2 separate regions of the Homo sapiens genome follow, and region 2 is linked to region 1. Evidence: promoter capture Hi-C in human tissues and cell types (Jung and others, 2019). All regions are on one chromosome and are shown on one strand. Each heading gives the region's core, a stretch centred on a gene start or on the middle of the fragment in contact. The rest is flanking DNA. Distances are from core to core; before and after follow the strand shown. Region 1 holds the start of GLB1L (galactosidase beta 1 like). Region 2 overlaps CNOT9 (CCR4-NOT transcription complex subunit 9).

What was found. The method cuts DNA at HindIII sites, captures the fragments that hold promoters and counts their contacts. A contact is called where the count stands out against the background at its distance.
Region 2: a fragment that was not itself captured here is called in contact with the fragment with the promoter of GLB1L in region 1 in 1 of the 25 tissues and cell types used here (spleen).

What each region holds. Positions count from the first base shown.
Region 1 is chr2:219,243,807-219,247,781 of GRCh38, forward strand. It overlaps GLB1L (galactosidase beta 1 like), which reads right to left and starts at 1,638. Exons shown (of 17, transcript NM_001286423.2): 1 at 1,423-1,638. STK16 (serine/threonine kinase 16) reads left to right here and starts at 1,673. Exons shown (of 8, transcript NM_001330213.2): 1 at 1,673-1,990; 2 at 2,090-2,279; 3 at 2,851-3,070; 4 at 3,307-3,440; 5 at 3,609-3,729; 6 at 3,856-3,951. The coding sequence starts at 2,194. RefSeq lists enhancers at 1,354-1,936, 1,385-1,814. The HindIII fragment of the contact is 8,716 bases long and covers 1-3,975 here.
Region 2 is chr2:218,582,957-218,586,931 of GRCh38, forward strand. CNOT9 (CCR4-NOT transcription complex subunit 9) reads left to right here. Exons shown (of 8, transcript NM_005444.3): 3 at 15-130; 4 at 1,656-1,765. Among named protein-coding and RNA genes, the nearest start is that of CNOT9, 16 kb to the left of the region's middle. The HindIII fragment of the contact is 4,719 bases long and covers 1-3,975 here.

The sequences.
Region 1 (3,975 bases), core at 388-2,887:
GTTAGAAATGGAGAATCTGGCTGGGCACGATGGCTCACGCCTGTAATCCCAACACTTTGGGAGGCCGAGGCGGGTGGATCACTTGAGGTCAGGAGTTCAAGACCAGCTTGGCCAACAGGGCAAAACCCTGTCTCTACTAAAAATACAAAAATTAGCCGGGCCTGGTGGCACGCGCCTGTATTCCAAGCTACTCCGAGGGTGGGGGTGGGGGTGGGGGTGGGGGTGGGGGTAGGGGCTGAGGCAGGAGAATTGCTTGAACCCGGAAGGCGGAGGTTGCAGTGAACCGAGATCCTGCCACTGCACTCCAGCCTGGGCAACAGAGCGAGACTCTGTCTCAAAAAACACAAACAAACAAACAAAAGAAATGTAAAATCTCAGATCCTACCTCAGACCTATAGAATCAGAATTTGTATTTTAACAAGATTCCCAGGTGATCCTAGGCACCTTCAAAATTGAGAAGCATGGCTTTACTTGACTGGGCTCCCTGAGGACAGGGAGTGCCCTGTTCATCTCAAATCCTCAGCCTCTAGCACAGGGCCGGGTATATAGTAGGTTAAATCTGGATGAATCAATGTCATAACCAAAAGGCTAAAACAGGTTCAGAACCAGGGGAAACCATTGGAAAATCTTCAGGGTGATCCGGGGTGTGGAAGGGAGGAACCAGGTCACAAGAAGGACCTCTTTCCTGGAGAGTCCTGTTTCAGCAAAACAGCCATTCCCTCCTGGCCATTCCACCTTCTTTGGAAGTGCACCCCTCTCCAGCTTACCCCTGCCTGCCTCCGCAACAGATATTAAGGACAACTGCTTTGTGCCAAAGCTCGAAAATCTGTGAATTTCCGTTCCTTTTGCCTTTACAGTCTCAAGAATGGGATGTGAAGATCAGGGTAATAATAATTACGGTTTATTGACACGTACTGAAGGCTATGTGTCAGATATTGTATTAAACACTGTACATCTCATTTAATCTTCAACTCCATGAGGTAGATAATTATTTCCATTTTACAGAGGAGGAGAGGAAAGGACAGAAACATTAAGTAGCCTGTCCAAGGTCACACAACTACGTTAACGGAGCTGTCATTTGAACTAGTCAGTCTGGCCTCACAGTTAAGCTACTTAACCTTATGTACTATTATACCTATTTTACAGCTACCAAAAGTAAGGATCCGAGAGGTTAAGTAACTTGCCCGAGGTTACACAGCTAGCATGCTATTAACACTCAATTTAGAAACTGGAAGTCTGGTTCACAAGCCTGAGCTCTTAACCACTGAGACTAGGGGTAGTGGGATACAGGCCAGAGCCCAGAAGGTTGTACGGGATCAGGAGACCAGGCCACCAGACCCGCCCCTCACTGGATCCCCCTCCAGGCTGCAGTGTAGTTGGCCGCTTTCTGCCCCAGAGCGCCAGAGGTATGAAGCCTCCTACCTCCAACATTGGGAGATGGAGGTCCTGGGGGCCTCGGGCCGAGCCCGGCTTTGCTCCCCTTTGGCGTAGGTGCCTGCGTCTTGACCCCCACCGAAGGCCAAGTAGAGAACCCTCACCAGGGTCCTGGGACCCGTCCACCCCTACACCTAGCTAGCCCGGAGCCTCTCAGCTCCGCGTCCCCACATCCTCCGGATGCCCAGCGGTTGCTGAGATACCGCGGGCCGTTACGCCGGCGCGGACTGATGATGTCAGCACTGCTTCCGGTCGGTGGCGCTTCTCTCTGGCCCGAGCCAGGTCAGTCCGGCAGTGCAGATGGCCCATCCCGGGCTCTGGGCTCCTAGACCGGGGTGGGCCCTGCCAGGAGTGGGCCTGAGCCTCGCACGTCCTCTGAAACTACGCTATGCTCTGCTTTTGCGGCGCGATGGGCGTGGGAGCGGGGGCTGCCCAAAGATGGGCTGGGGTTGGAGGAAGTGGCCCGGTAGCCGCTGTGTGTCCTGAGGCCGTAAGGCGCCTGACCCCACCCCTGAAGCTGGCGACGGAGCAGGGCCTGTTTTCTCTACACTATAGTGTAGGTTCCAGAGACCTGGGCCTGAGCTCTCCGCATTGGTACTTCATGGGTCGTCTGGATTGTGCCGGACCTGTGACCCTGCCGTTGTTTTCTTTCCAGCATGATCCGCTGGGCCCCCAGCGCATCTCCTGGAAGAGCCCACTCACCCTGGACGAGCTCTTCGGTAGCCTCAGACCGTCCTTGAAGAGGATGACTGAGACATTATGGGCCACGCGCTGTGTGTCTGCTCTCGGGGAACTGTCATCATTGACAATAAGCGCTACCTCTTCATCCAGAAACTGGGGGAGGGGTGAGTGTTTGGAAGTCAGTTAACTAGTCCTCAAGTTTATGATCATTGAAGGACAGCGGTGTGCATATGCTTGGGGCACAAGGGTTTTATCCCTATCCCTGTCCTCTCTCACCTGACAGAACCTAGCTACACAGTATCAAGAAGGTGGATTCTGGAGCCAGGCCTGCTAAATCCACCTCGTGTGACCTTGATAAACCATGTTTTTTTCATCAGCTTAATGGAGATGATTATTATCCCTCACTGATGGAGTTGTGAGGATTAAATGAGATAATGTGTATAAAATGTCTCACCCAATGCGGGGTTGACAAGTACTTGATAAGTGTTGGCTATTATTTATTTAGCATCTGTCAAGTGCAGAGGTCTCTATTACGACCATAGGACCTCAAAGATTTCTATATCTCTGCTCCTGAGGAGCTCACGGTGTAATATTCTTCAGATTTCTCTTAGAGCCACATCTTGGGAAGGTTTCTGCTAAATGGGAAGGACACCCCACTCCCCACCAGGAAATTTCTCTAGGTCCAAGCCATGTGGGAGATGACCATGGCCCTTTATTGACCCCTTTGGCCCACAGTGGGTTCAGCTATGTGGACCTAGTGGAAGGGTTACATGATGGACACTTCTACGCCCTGAAGCGAATCCTGTGTCACGAGCAGCAGGACCGGGAGGAGGCCCAGCGAGAAGCCGACATGCATCGCCTCTTCAATCACCCCAACATCCTTCGCCTCGTGGCTTACTGTCTGAGGGAACGGGGTGCTAAGCATGAGGCCTGGCTGCTGCTACCATTCTTCAAGGTCAGAAAGACTCCTGGTTATGGAGGGGGTTGCAGCAGAGCCACCTACTCAAGGGCTGTGTGAGCAGTCCAGCATGTTAGGAAGCAGGGACCATGTCCTGGGTTTGGCCACTTTAGATTTTGAGTTTGAGGTGTGTATCATGAAAGGGCTGATAGGCTTTGACATAGGGAAGGGATCAGGCCTAAGGAGCAGAGGCTCCAAAAACATCTCCAACTGTAGGGAAACTTGTGTTGCAGAGAGGTACGCTGTGGAATGAGATAGAAAGGCTGAAGGACAAAGGCAACTTCCTGACCGAGGATCAAATCCTTTGGCTGCTGCTGGGGATCTGCAGAGGCCTTGAGGCCATTCATGCCAAGGGTTATGCCCACAGGTCAGTGGGAGGACCCTGTGTGCTTGCTGGGGCCCAGAGGAAGAGCCTCACCAGGAGACATGGGAGGTCTCTGTTCTCCCAAGAAACAGCCTGTATGATTCTTTTGCTTGCTGGGATTCCAGCCTTCCTGTCCAGAGATGCTCATAGGTCACTTCTACTTCTCTACAGAGACTTGAAGCCCACCAATATATTGCTTGGAGATGAGGGGCAGCCAGTTTTAATGGACTTGGGTTCCATGAATCAAGCATGCATCCATGTGGAGGGCTCCCGCCAGGCTCTGACCCTGCAGGTAAAAGAGTCTCCAGGTTCCTTTTCTCACCTGTTCCCCATTCCCACCCCTTCTGGTGCATGTCCCAGTTTGGTCACATGACCATGACCTGTGCCCCACTTTTGAGCTCTGGGATCACTGTTCCAGGACTGGGCAGCCCAGCGGTGCACCATCTCCTACCGAGCCCCAGAGCTCTTCTCTGTGCAGAGTCACTGTGTCATCGATGAGCGGACTGATGTCTGGGTGAGGAGCATGTGGGTGGGTATC
Region 2 (3,975 bases), core at 895-3,394, 660 kb before region 1:
TTTCCATTTTTTAGGAAATTGTAAATATTTATCCATCTATCAACCCACCCACCTTGACAGCACACCAGTCTAACAGAGTTTGCAATGCTCTGGCATTACTGCAATGTGTAGCATCACATCCAGAAACCAGGTAAATGCTTTGGGTGAGTCACTTGGGGGAGATATACATTGAATATGGTCCTAAACGTTCTCTGAATAATAAAAGGAAGGGCATGGAGGAGAGAGAGAGAGAACGTTTGTGTGTGTGTGTGTGTGTGTGTGTGTGTGTGTGTGTGTGTCTCTCTCTCTCTCTCTCTCTCTCTCTCTCTCTCTCTCTCTCTCTCTCTCTCTCCTGGTCTTCCGGATTCTTATTTACTTTTACCCAATGAACTTTAAAGAAACAGTGTTCACATTACAGGAAAGGTATCAGGCATACAGCTACTTCTCACTCCCTGACCTGTTATTGACACTATGTCATCTGTGAGGCATAGTGCATGGCATATAAGAGGAGTTTAGTAATTATTTTTCCAGCACTTTTCCCACACTGAACCCAGATTTGACTTCAGAATCCTTCTTAACATAGCATTCTGGGCGGCCTCTATAATAGACGAGAATTGGCATGTAAGTTAAAATATTTTTGCCACCTGTCATATCTAAAAAATTAAGAAAAGGGAAATCCTGTTCAGGAATCTACTTTGTGGGCTTTTATGGCCCCAAAGGCACTTAATAGTCATCTTATTAAAGCCTTTCCTCTTTGTCAAGTTTCCTTATGAAATATGTATGCTAGGTTGGCACTGACCTTACACAGCTTTAGAGAAATTACTAAGAAAATTACTTTTAAGCACTTAACAAAAACACAAGAGTACTTTGAGTGTTAAAAATCTTGGGCGTTGGCTCTTCTACAAGGTGTAACTATAAATAATATAAAATAATAGACTGATTTCCTTATTAGTTGCCTGACTAAACTGTTTTCAGAATGGTTTGTGTATCTGAAATGCCCTAACAAAAAAAGAAGAATGTGCTTATTAAAGTATAGCAGGTAAGCCTGATAATGGCTGCTTTGTTTTGTTGTATTGGTTTGTAAGGTTTATTCGACTGCACCTGTGAATACTATTATTCAGTCATAGGTGAGGGAGATAATCTAGGACAATCTCTTGGACACTTAATAGCATTTTGTGGTCTATTTTTTAAAATCCACAATTGGATATTTTAAGTTAATCAGTTTGTAAGGTACTTTTTGCTGATTACAGGGAAAATCATGTGTTTTCTTAACCACTGTGATCTGGACTAGGGTTTTCAGCTTTGGCACCATTACCATTTGGGGCTGGATGAATCTTTGTGATGGAAAGGAGAGGGCAGGAGAGGACTGTCCTGTGCATTGTAGGATGTTTAATGGCATCTCTGGCCTCTTCCCACTGGATGCCAATAGTGCTTCATAATCCTGAGTTGTGACAATCAAAGATGTCTCCAGACATTGCCACATGTCCTCCAGGGGGCAAAATTTACCCCATTTGAGAACCATTGGTTGAGACTAATGACCAGTAACATTGTTTTCCTAAGGATTCCTTGCTCTGACAATGTTAAGGCCTTACAGAATTAACCACCTAGAAATTTGAAAGTTCAGGATCCTTAGAAATCAACCCTGGGCTGTGAATGTAATTATTGTTTTCTTCCAGGTCAGCGTTTCTCGCAGCACACATCCCACTTTTTTTGTACCCCTTTTTGCACACTGTCAGCAAAACACGTCCCTTTGAGTATCTCCGGCTCACCAGCCTTGGAGTTATTGGTAAGTTATTAGAATTGTTTTGCAAGCCTGAAATACTCACAGTAGTAGTCTAAGTTGGGTGTTTTGTCTTGCCGGTTATGATTTTTGTACACCAGTCATTCATTTTTGTCTTTGAGGTTGTCTCATTCACTAATCAATAAGTATCAGGAACATGATGACTCCTATCAAGCACTCTTCTAAGTGTTGTTAATAAGACTTTGAGATCCAACATTTGGGATTAAATTCAGCATATATGTGGAAACATTTGCTGGAATTGTAGGGAGAGTAAAGCATAAGAACTTGATTCAATATATAAAGAGTATTATTAAAGGAATAAGAGTTTAAATTTGGGACTTCTCCTCTTCCCTTCTCTCTTCTCTTCTCTTCTTTTCTTTTCTTTTCTTTCTGATAGGGTCTTGCTGTGTTACCCAGGCTGGAATTGAACTCCTAGGCTCAAGTGATCCTCCTGCCTCAGCCTCCCAAGTAATAGGGACCATGGGCACAGGCACACACCACTGTCTTTTTTTGTTTGTTTGTCTTACTTCTAATACCGGAATGCTTCGTATATCTGAAATGCCCTAAGAATATGCATGTCAAATACACTAAGCATTCTGAAAACCTGTAATTCTCCCATAACTCCAGGAATATGAATCTGTCAGTTCACCCAGTTAAATTTTTTCATCTACTTTTTTTTTAGTCTCTACTAAAAAAATAATGCAAAAATCAGCCGGGCGTGGTGGCATGTGCCTGTAGTCCCAGCTGCTGGGGAGGCTGAGGCAGGAGAATCGCTTGAACCTGGGAGGTGGAGATGCAGTGATTGCAGTGAGCCAAGATCACGCCACTGCACTCCAGCCTGGGCGGCAGAGGGAGACTCAAAAAAAAAAAATTAAATTTCCATGTACTAGCAATGAACAATAGGAAATTTATTTTTTATTTTATTTTTTTTTTTTTTTTTTGAGACAAGGTCTTGCTCTGTTGCCCACTCTTGAGTGCAGTGGCATGATCATGGCTCACTGCACCCTCAAACTCCTGGGATCACACAAATCCACCCACCTCAGCCTTGAGAAGCTGGAACCATAGGCACATGCCACCACACCTGGCTACATTTTTTTATTTTTTTGTAGACACAAGGTCTCACTTTTTGTTGCCCAGGCTTGTCTCAAACTTCTGGGCTCAAGTGGTTCTCCCACCTTGGCCTCCCAAAGTGCTGGGATTACAGATGTGAGCCACTGCACCTAGCTGAAATTTTTTTAAACTGCCATTTATAACAGCACCGAAATGTGAAAATTTGGGTATAAATCTTTAAAAATATATGCATGATCTATAACTAAAAACTACAAAACTGATTTCTAATGAAATAAAATGCAGAGATAAACCATGTTCATTGATTGGTGTATCAATGATTCAGTATTGTTAAGTTGTTCATTCTCCCCAAACTGATCTATAGATTCAGAGTAATTCCAACAAAATCCCAGCAGCACTTTTTTTAGAAATTGGCAGGCTGACTGCTATGGACTGAATTGTGTCCTCCCCAAAATTTCATGCTTTGAAACCCTACCCCCTCATGTCATGGTATTTGGAGATGGGACCTTTGAAAGATAATTAGGTTTAGATGAGGACATGGCCCTCATGAGGTTAGTATTCTTCTAAGAAGAGACACCAAAGAGCTTGTGCTCCCTCATTCGCTCTCTGCCATGTGAGGACATAGTGAGAAGCTGGCCATCTACAAGCCAGGAAGAGAGACTTTACAAGAACTATACCATACCATGCTGGCACCCTGATCTCAGCTTTTTTTTTTTTTTTTGTGAGACAGATTCTTGCTCTGTTGCCCAGGCTAGAGTGCAGTGGCATAATTTTGGCTCACTGCACCCTCCGCCTCCTGGGTTCTAGCAATTCTTCTGCCTCAGCATCCCGAGTAGCTGGGACTACAGGTGCGTGCCACCACACCCGGCTAATTTTTGTATTTTTAATAGAGACAGGGTTTCACGATGTTGGCCAGGCTGGTCTTGGAACTCCTGACCTCAGGTGATCCAGCTGCCTCAGCCTCCCAAAGTGCTGTGATTACAGGTGTGAGCCACTGTGCCCAGCCTGATCTCAGACTTTCAGCTGCTAGAACTATGAGACAATAAATTTCAGTTGTTTAAGCCACCAGTCTATGGTATTTTGTTATGGCAGCCTTCTAATAGACTGATCCTAAGATTTATATGGAAAGCCAAAGGAACTAGAATATC